Regions from separate parts of the Homo sapiens genome. Here region 2 is linked to region 1. Evidence: promoter capture Hi-C in human tissues and cell types (Jung and others, 2019). All regions are on one chromosome and are shown on one strand. Each heading gives the region's core, a stretch centred on a gene start or on the middle of the fragment in contact. The rest is flanking DNA. Distances are from core to core; before and after follow the strand shown. Region 1 holds the start of RAB20 (RAB20, member RAS oncogene family). Region 2 holds the start of LOC105370356 (a long non-coding RNA gene).

Region 1 (3,752 bases), core at 1-2,500:
ACCTGACATGCCAGGGCTGAGCAGGTACGAAATACCTTGGCATTCCTGCCTTGTCGGAGTCTCAGGGCACCTACGAAGGAGGCAACGGGCCTATTTCCCTTTACAGGACACCTTCAGGACACGGGTTTTAACCTGCTCAGGGTCTCATCGCCTTTCCCAGCCAGGCCAGCGGCCAGAGTGACACTGTCCCCCAGGGTTTAACTTAGAGTCCATTCTACCTCTCATTTTCTCTAAAAAACCCCAACCAACCAACTAACCAAATTCTACACGCTGCATATTTTAAAAGCATTTCAAGGTTTATCCTTTAAAACGGAAGGAGGACCTGGGAGGCCGAAGCGGGTGGATCACGAGGTCAGGAGTTCGAGACCAGCCTGGCCAACATGGTGAAACCCCGTGTCTACTAAAAATACAAAAATTAGCCGGGCATGGTGGCACATACCTGTAATCCCGCCTACTCGGGAGGCTGAGGCAGGAGAATCGCTTGAAACCGGAAGGCGGAGGTTGCAGTGAGCCGAGATCGCGCACTGCTCTCCAGCTTGGGCAACAACAGCAAAACTCCGTGTCAAAAATAAAAAAAAAAAAAAAAAAAGAAGGAGGAAATATTTCTCAAGTAGCGACTGCAACTTCCATAGTCAAATTTTCATTCCAAGCTATAAATGGAGATGACTGTCCACTTTTCAGGACAAAAAGCTTCTTGCAAAAGTAGAAGAGCAAAAGCAAAATCCTCCACTAGAAAGCGCCCCCATCTCTAATCTGTAACAGTGAGAGCCTCAGGACGAGTTCCGCAGACGCTCATTTAAAGCAAACTTTTTCAATGACCTTGAGGGTGGCTGTACTTACACGCGGAGAAGCAAATCGACCGCAGCTGGAAAGGCGCTGGGTCGAGCGTGAGAGGAACACGGGTTTTACCTAAGGGAGAGTGGAAGAGAGAAGGGGGTTCCCCAAGGGCCCCGGCCCCTTCGCCTCGTTCGGGCCCCGCGGCCAAGCTCCTCGCACCGCAGCCCCGGCTGTGCAGAAGCGGAGGGGCGGAAGGTGCTCTCAGAACTTTCATTTTCCACCCTGCAGCAGTCCCGAGCCTCGGCTGGAGAACTCGGATGCTTGCGAAACGGCGAGGTCCAGCAGGGGCGGGACGGGGGCGGTGGGCGGAGGAGGATAGGGCGGGGCCGCGGCGGTGAAAGGGCCCGGGGGCGGGGGCGGGGGCGGGGCGAGGCGAGGCCGCCGCGGTCCGGGCCCCCGACGTGGGCTCCGTGCTCTGCACCCAGCTCCTTCCCGGGCGCGCACACGCGCTTCCTCTCTTGAGCTCCCGGGCGTCCGGAGGCGAAGGTCCCGGAGCGTTCACGAGAATCCGGGTCCCGGCGAGTCCGGGGTCCGCTCCTCCAGCTGCGCCCAGGGCGCACGAGCCGGCCAGCCTCGGGGAGAGGGCGCGGGGGCGCTGGGGGTTCTTACGGGAAGATGAGGAAGCCCGACAGCAAGATCGTGCTCCTGGGGGACATGAACGTGGGGAAGACGTCGCTGCTGCAGCGGTATATGGAGCGGCGCTTCCCGGACACGGTCAGCACGGTGGGCGGCGCCTTCTACCTGAAGCAGTGGCGCTCCTACAACATCTCCATCTGGGACACCGCAGGTGAGGCCGGCGCCGCATGAGCCACACCGCCCTGGGGCTCCGCCGGGGACGGGGGGCGCGGGGCTTCCAGCAGGGCACCCGGCCGCGCACAGGGTCCCGGCCTCGGACAGCAAATGCCTCCTTCTCGGGGTTTCCCACTCGTCCTCCCTTGCTGGTTGGGCTGAGCGCTGCCTCTCAGCCACTCAGTGACCTCAGGGACAACCCAAGTTGCAGAGAACCCGCTGGTCATTTGTGTACCTAAGCTGCCTTTGCTCCCGAGCCCCGCGTTCCTGCTCTGCCGCCCTGGGAACCAGAGACGCTCCTCTGTGGCTGCTTTGTTAGGTATTTTCAGTTTTCACGTACCCGTAGGAACATGATATCCTTTGAGATTCACTTGAGGGGTGAGCAGAGCTGGTGTTATTAGCCCCTTTCTAAGAAAAAGTAAAATGAGGCACAGAGTGTTCCCCCCTGTTGGGTTTAGTCAGGAGAGAGGAAATAAAACTGGAGCCTCCGGACCTCTTAGCCCGGAGCATATCTGCCTTTTACAGTTAATCTTCTGCTTGATCTTGGCTCAGATACGTCATATGGGTTTGGGTTGGAGTGACTTCCGGTGGAAGCATTTTTAAGATAGGTAATGAGTTATTTTTATTGTGTAGTATTTGTGACTTTTCAAAAGTACAACTTAGAGGATCTCAATTCAGGCTTTCTGTTTAACTTTGGAAAATAACACTGGTGATTGTAGCATTGCAATGGAATATATTTCCTTCTCCTTACAAAAGAATAAGATATTGTAAGTGAATGAAGAAACTGGAAATAGTGTGACACATTTTCAATGAGTGTGAGTTTTTAGAAGCCTGAAACTCTGAAAGTTCTGACTTCTTTTATGTTAGCATCTTAAAAAGTCATATACCCAAAGGCCCCGTCCAGAATTCTTAAATTGCCATCTTGGGTGTATCAGTATGCTGAATAAACAAGATGATAATGAATTCTCTCTTTAAAACTGAATTAACGAAGCTCACAGAGGTACTTCCAGTTCTCCCCCTCCCTTTTGCCTTCTTTGATGCTTTTTTATTATTATCCCAGTTAACATCGTGACTAATTTATTGGCAATCATCTTGTGAAAACAATGTCCCCCAGGTAAAGAGGTGCATTTCCCTGATCTTTGCTCCAACTCTGTCTTCTGCCTCAGGCTGCAGGATGAGGTTTACTGAGCTGACTCCCTCACACTGAGCATTTGGTAACGATGGAACACACGCTCTAGAAGTCAAATCGAACCCAATTCACGAACCCAATTTGCTTCTGTACAAAGTCAAATTGAACCCAATTTGGTTTTGTACAAAGCTTTGCCCCTCTGCTGCTTTTGCTGGTTGGCTGGGATTTACTGCTGCCCTTGGTTTACAAGTAGCAAGGTTAATGCAGGAGTGTTATTGGGGGACCCTAACCGAAACCCCTGTAGTGGCCACCGTTGGAGGCAGACTCTTAACACACGGTGTGTTTCTGGAACAAGAGCTGCCCTGCAGTGCTGGAACGGCCCCTGCATCGGAGGGAATGAAGCAGCAGTTTCGTTTCCACTGGCCTCTTGCTTCTTCAGCACCAAGGACGTGATGCAGCCGGAATCCTGATCACCAGAGATTTTGCAGTTGTGCTGATGTGACGCCCCAGATGTCTTGAAGCGTTACTGGGGGGCAGCAGCTCATTTCCTGGCATCCGAGGCTGCTGCTGCTTGTTCGAAAGATCCTAAGGGTGAATTACTAGAGCTCCTCAGAACAGAGAGTGGCCAGGCCCCTTCTCCACATTCCTGACTTCCTGTGTACACACTCAGGCGGCCCTTGCCCAGAGTTGGCAGGGACACAGGGCACCCTTGCCTGCCTCCTCGGTGGCCTGTGGCCTGACCGGGTACTTGAAGGGAAAAGAGAGGTAGGAACAGATACCTTTTCTATAATTGTTGGAAATTCAGAATTTAACATTTAGGGGACCCTGTTCTTTTCCTTCTTTTGCTGAGCTCCTAAACTTTCTCTCCACCCCACAGACATTGCTTTTCAAGTTGTTTTTGTTGTAATTGTCATAACCGAGGCAGAATGGTAAGGACCAGCCGGAGGAGGAACCATTTTGAAAGTTGCTTTTAGCCACACAAGGCAGGGTGGGCTGG
Region 2 (3,752 bases), core at 618-3,117, 1.4 Mb after region 1:
CACGCCTTAGGCCTTGGCCTCGGTCTTGCCTTCCCGGCCCTGTCAGCCTCCCAGCCTCTCTCTCCTTCTCCAGCGTCCAGCAGGGCATGGCAGCTGCACTGTGTTCAGGCCTTCTGGATGACCTTCTGAAAAACAGCACCTGTCTTCCTCGCCAGGTCAGTTCCTGTCCCCACTCCTTGCTTTAGTTTTCTACACAGTCCTTCTCACTGCATGGCACAGAACAGCCCAATTGTTTGTTTTGTGTCTCCTTCCTCTGGAATGTGGGCAAATACAATGTGCGTTGTATTTTCAGTGCCTAGAATAGAGCCCGGCTCACAGATGGCACTCAATTAATATTTGTTGAAAAAGAAAAAAGATGAATGAACAATAAATTAGTTTTAATAATGTTGCTATAGAAATTCTCTTTCTGAAAGGAGCTACACTTTCCATACCTGTAAAATAGCTTGCACATTTACTAAATGAAAATTTTATGCAAATAAGTACAGTAAAGCCACGCACCACAATGATCATTTTTCCCCATTCACACAAGATTGACAACTTACGGAAGCACTTTCAGTGTTAATCCACCTTTGAGTGCTGATCTTTACTTATTTAAAATTATAAGATAAGGAAAATATCTCATTGCATGAGGTGAATATTTTCTTTTATGCAATGGAGTGGAGCTGTTTGTTTTCTACCTAAGCTTGTTAACTTATGAGAGAAAGGACCTATGGTTGTTTGAAACTGATTCCTGACCCATGGTTTGAGAATTCAAAGACACAAGGTCCATACATAGTTTTTTAAAATTGTACTTTACATTGCTTTACAATCTGTAATATCAGGAGATAAAAATCAATTTGATGAATGTTGGCATGCTTTGGCTGTGCTGAGTGTGACTCTGGAATCCTGGTGACTGGAGTGGGCACAGTGGGTTGACCCGTAGTTACGTGAAGGGGCTTCCATGCACCCCTATCTTCCCCAGGCCTCTTCCAAGGCCGAGGGAGGGACTCAAGCAATGTACAAACAGTTAACATTTGTAATACTTTGTAAACGTATACTTTGATTTATTTTCTCATTTTGAATAAATGTCCACTTAACTCTCTAAATGTTCATTTTTCATCTTTATTATTATTTTTTTAAAAAAGCTCACCTTTCCCCAATTGCATATGCTTCAATCTCTGGACAAAAACCAAAATGGGTCTCAGGCATAGAGCCTCTAGCCATAATCTACATGATGAAATCTTTACCTTTGAGTAATTCACAGGCGGGAGGAGAAATAGGTGTGAGGTCACTGGATGAGACTACAAAGGCAACGTCACCTCCGGCTCACCTTGGAAATGTTTTATGGGAAAAGTCCAACTCCTCAGACAGTAACAAGACTGTTTTATAAGTTTGCCATGACAGGAGAGGTATGAATAAGTTAACATCAGGGATGTGTCTGGGAGAGGAGACACAGGAAGGATTTTGTGGAGGGAGGGGGAGGTAGGATGGAAGGCGAGAAGAGGAACTTCTCTTAAGGAAGAATGCAAAAACTCTGCAAGAGTGGAGAGACGTTTCTTAGTGGGGAGAGAGAAATGTCCTTGAATAATTCTGGGAGAGCTGGAGAAAGACAGGGAGCATAATGGGAGTTAAGATGAGTCCTTGCTCCAAACCAAGAGTGACAAGAAACCTGGCAGAACGGACAGCACGTGGTTCAGCCCTGGGAAGGCAAAGAGATGCCCTGGAGCGCAGTGGCCACTCTGGGGAACATGAGAGCTGAATGAAGAAGAAAGGAAGAGGGGTGGACCATGAGCAAACTATATTCCTCCCCCAAGCTAGGGAGCTCTCCACTGATTCAACAGGTATTCACGTCCTACAAGGTCCAAACCTGGTGCTAAGATTTACTTTAGAACTTAAAGAAATATTCGTCCGAAAGAAACAATCCATTGAGTGCTCACATTTTAGAGGGGTTATGGAGCACGGCAGATGACAAGAATTTATGACGACCGGGTAAGTGCAAGAAGAAAAGGGACTACATCTATCCTGAGGGGTATAGAAGAATGAAGAATCTGACGCATCACTGTGGGACTCGCATCCTGCTCAGCTGAGCTAATTTTGACGGTTTTATTCACTTGTTAAAGCCTTTGACACTTATAATGCCAACCCATGTGACAGGGACATCCAGGGTGCATTCTAAGGGGTGCTTTTCCCCAGGCTTCTCTGTGGTGACTCAGCTCTAAGGGGGACTGTCTTCAAGGTGCCTTCAAGGCATGTGTTAAGGTTGCAAAGGGCCAGGGGGCTGGGATGGGAGCTCTGCAAAATGCTCTAGGAATTCTTAGGAGAGGTCAGAGTGGGCTGGAGCAGCCAGGTGAGCCTTTGTTGTGTAGGCAGGAGGAAGAAGCAGTGGATTTTGAGTTGAGGACGGAATGTGGAGAGGGGGAGGGAAAAGGAAGGGAATGCCGCAGAGGCAGAGCTGACTGCACTCGTGAGGGAGGGGAGGCTGGCTCTGCCCACACCTCCGCACCGGGAAGTGGGAGCAGAGAGCTTTGGAGTCTATGAGCATCACAGGACTGGGTTCCAGCAAGTATTTTGAGCAAGGGCATGCTGTGAAGAATAAGGTTTTTTTTTTTTTTTTTTTTTTTTTTTGTAAATACTAATCTAGCAAAGAAAGTATACAGCTGAATGGACCTTGAGGAGAGATTAGAAGTAGAAAGAGAGTCAGGGGAGAGGCTGGGGAAGCAGAAGGAGGAGTGGAAAGGCAGGAGGAAGCTGAGTTCAATCCCACTGAGCGGGAGAACTGGGACCTGATGGGGACCACAGCTGGGGCGTGGTTCAGAGCAGCAGCTCCCACCTGAAGAGCAGGGTGCATCTGGGGTTGTACTTGTTGACTTTGAAGTGACAGCCGCAGGCCTGAGGATTAAATTGAGTGGCAATTTTTTGAAGAAGAGAATTTATTAGGACTGGAAAGGAAACAGCTAGGAGAGACTTAAAAATCTCTCAGGAAGGAGAAATTTTCAAGGAAGAGACACTCTCGAGTGTGAGGAGGTAGCAGGAGGGGACGCCCAGGTGACTGCCGTGCAGGAGGGCAGATGTGGGCGTGCAGGAGGGCAGATGTGGGCTTGCAGGAGGGGCTGCAGGCCAGGAGCCTTGGCAGAGGGCAGGACTGTGTGGCACGCAGGGCGGCTGACAGCGTCAGTGCTGGGGAAAGGCCAGGAAGCAGGGGAGAGAAAGGAGCCATGGAATGTTTCCCCAACAAGATGCTGAAAACACCACTTTTCTCTTAGGTACCTGCGCTAGAGATCAGATTAGAGTGTATTTTAGAATCCTATGAGATGGGATCCGGGTTTCAGTAACGCAGGAGAAAAACAAACTATAGCTGTTTGGCTGACTTAATACTGAGAGTGCTATGTAAGGCATAAAAAATGTGAAAATACATTTTAAACTCATTACTCATACTGGCTATAACTCATTCTGAAACTCTATAGGAAAATTCCTCTTCAGAAAGGCTATTGCATGAAGGGAATGTGCTTGTTTTTTCCTACTTGGCATTAAGGAAAAGTACAAATGCAGAGAGAGGTGCCTGGCAGGCTCCCACCACTTCTCAAGTTCTCGTTTGTAAAATTTAGAAGTCGCAGCTCGACAGCGCTTGCAGATACACATAGATGGTGCGTAATTAAATTTGGATACAAGCACTTCGACCTGAAATTGGCGTCTAGCTTGTGTTAAACCAAATCTAGTTTGTGTTACACAGGGCAACTCCTTTTAAATCTCTAAAATATAGATTTCTCTGAAAC

The links. Contacts are between HindIII fragments. The study calls those that stand out against the background at their distance.
Region 2: a fragment that was not itself captured here is called in contact with the fragment with the promoter of RAB20 in region 1 in 1 of the 25 tissues and cell types used here (lymphoblastoid cells).

What each region holds. Positions count from the first base shown.
Region 1 is chr13:110,559,220-110,562,971 of GRCh38, reverse strand. RAB20 (RAB20, member RAS oncogene family) reads left to right here and starts at 1,250. Exons shown (of 2, transcript NM_017817.3): 1 at 1,250-1,624. The coding sequence starts at 1,453. RefSeq lists silencers at 1,121-1,570, 1,462-1,651, 1,631-1,690. The HindIII fragment of the contact is 6,225 bases long and covers 1-3,752 here.
Region 2 is chr13:109,156,095-109,159,846 of GRCh38, reverse strand. All of the region lies in intron 32 of MYO16 (myosin XVI), which reads right to left. LOC105370356 (a long non-coding RNA gene) reads left to right here and starts at 59. Exons shown (of 5, transcript XR_931717.3): 1 at 59-155. RefSeq lists enhancers at 1-498, 2,489-3,038, 3,039-3,589, 2,997-3,752. The HindIII fragment of the contact is 6,045 bases long and covers 1-3,752 here.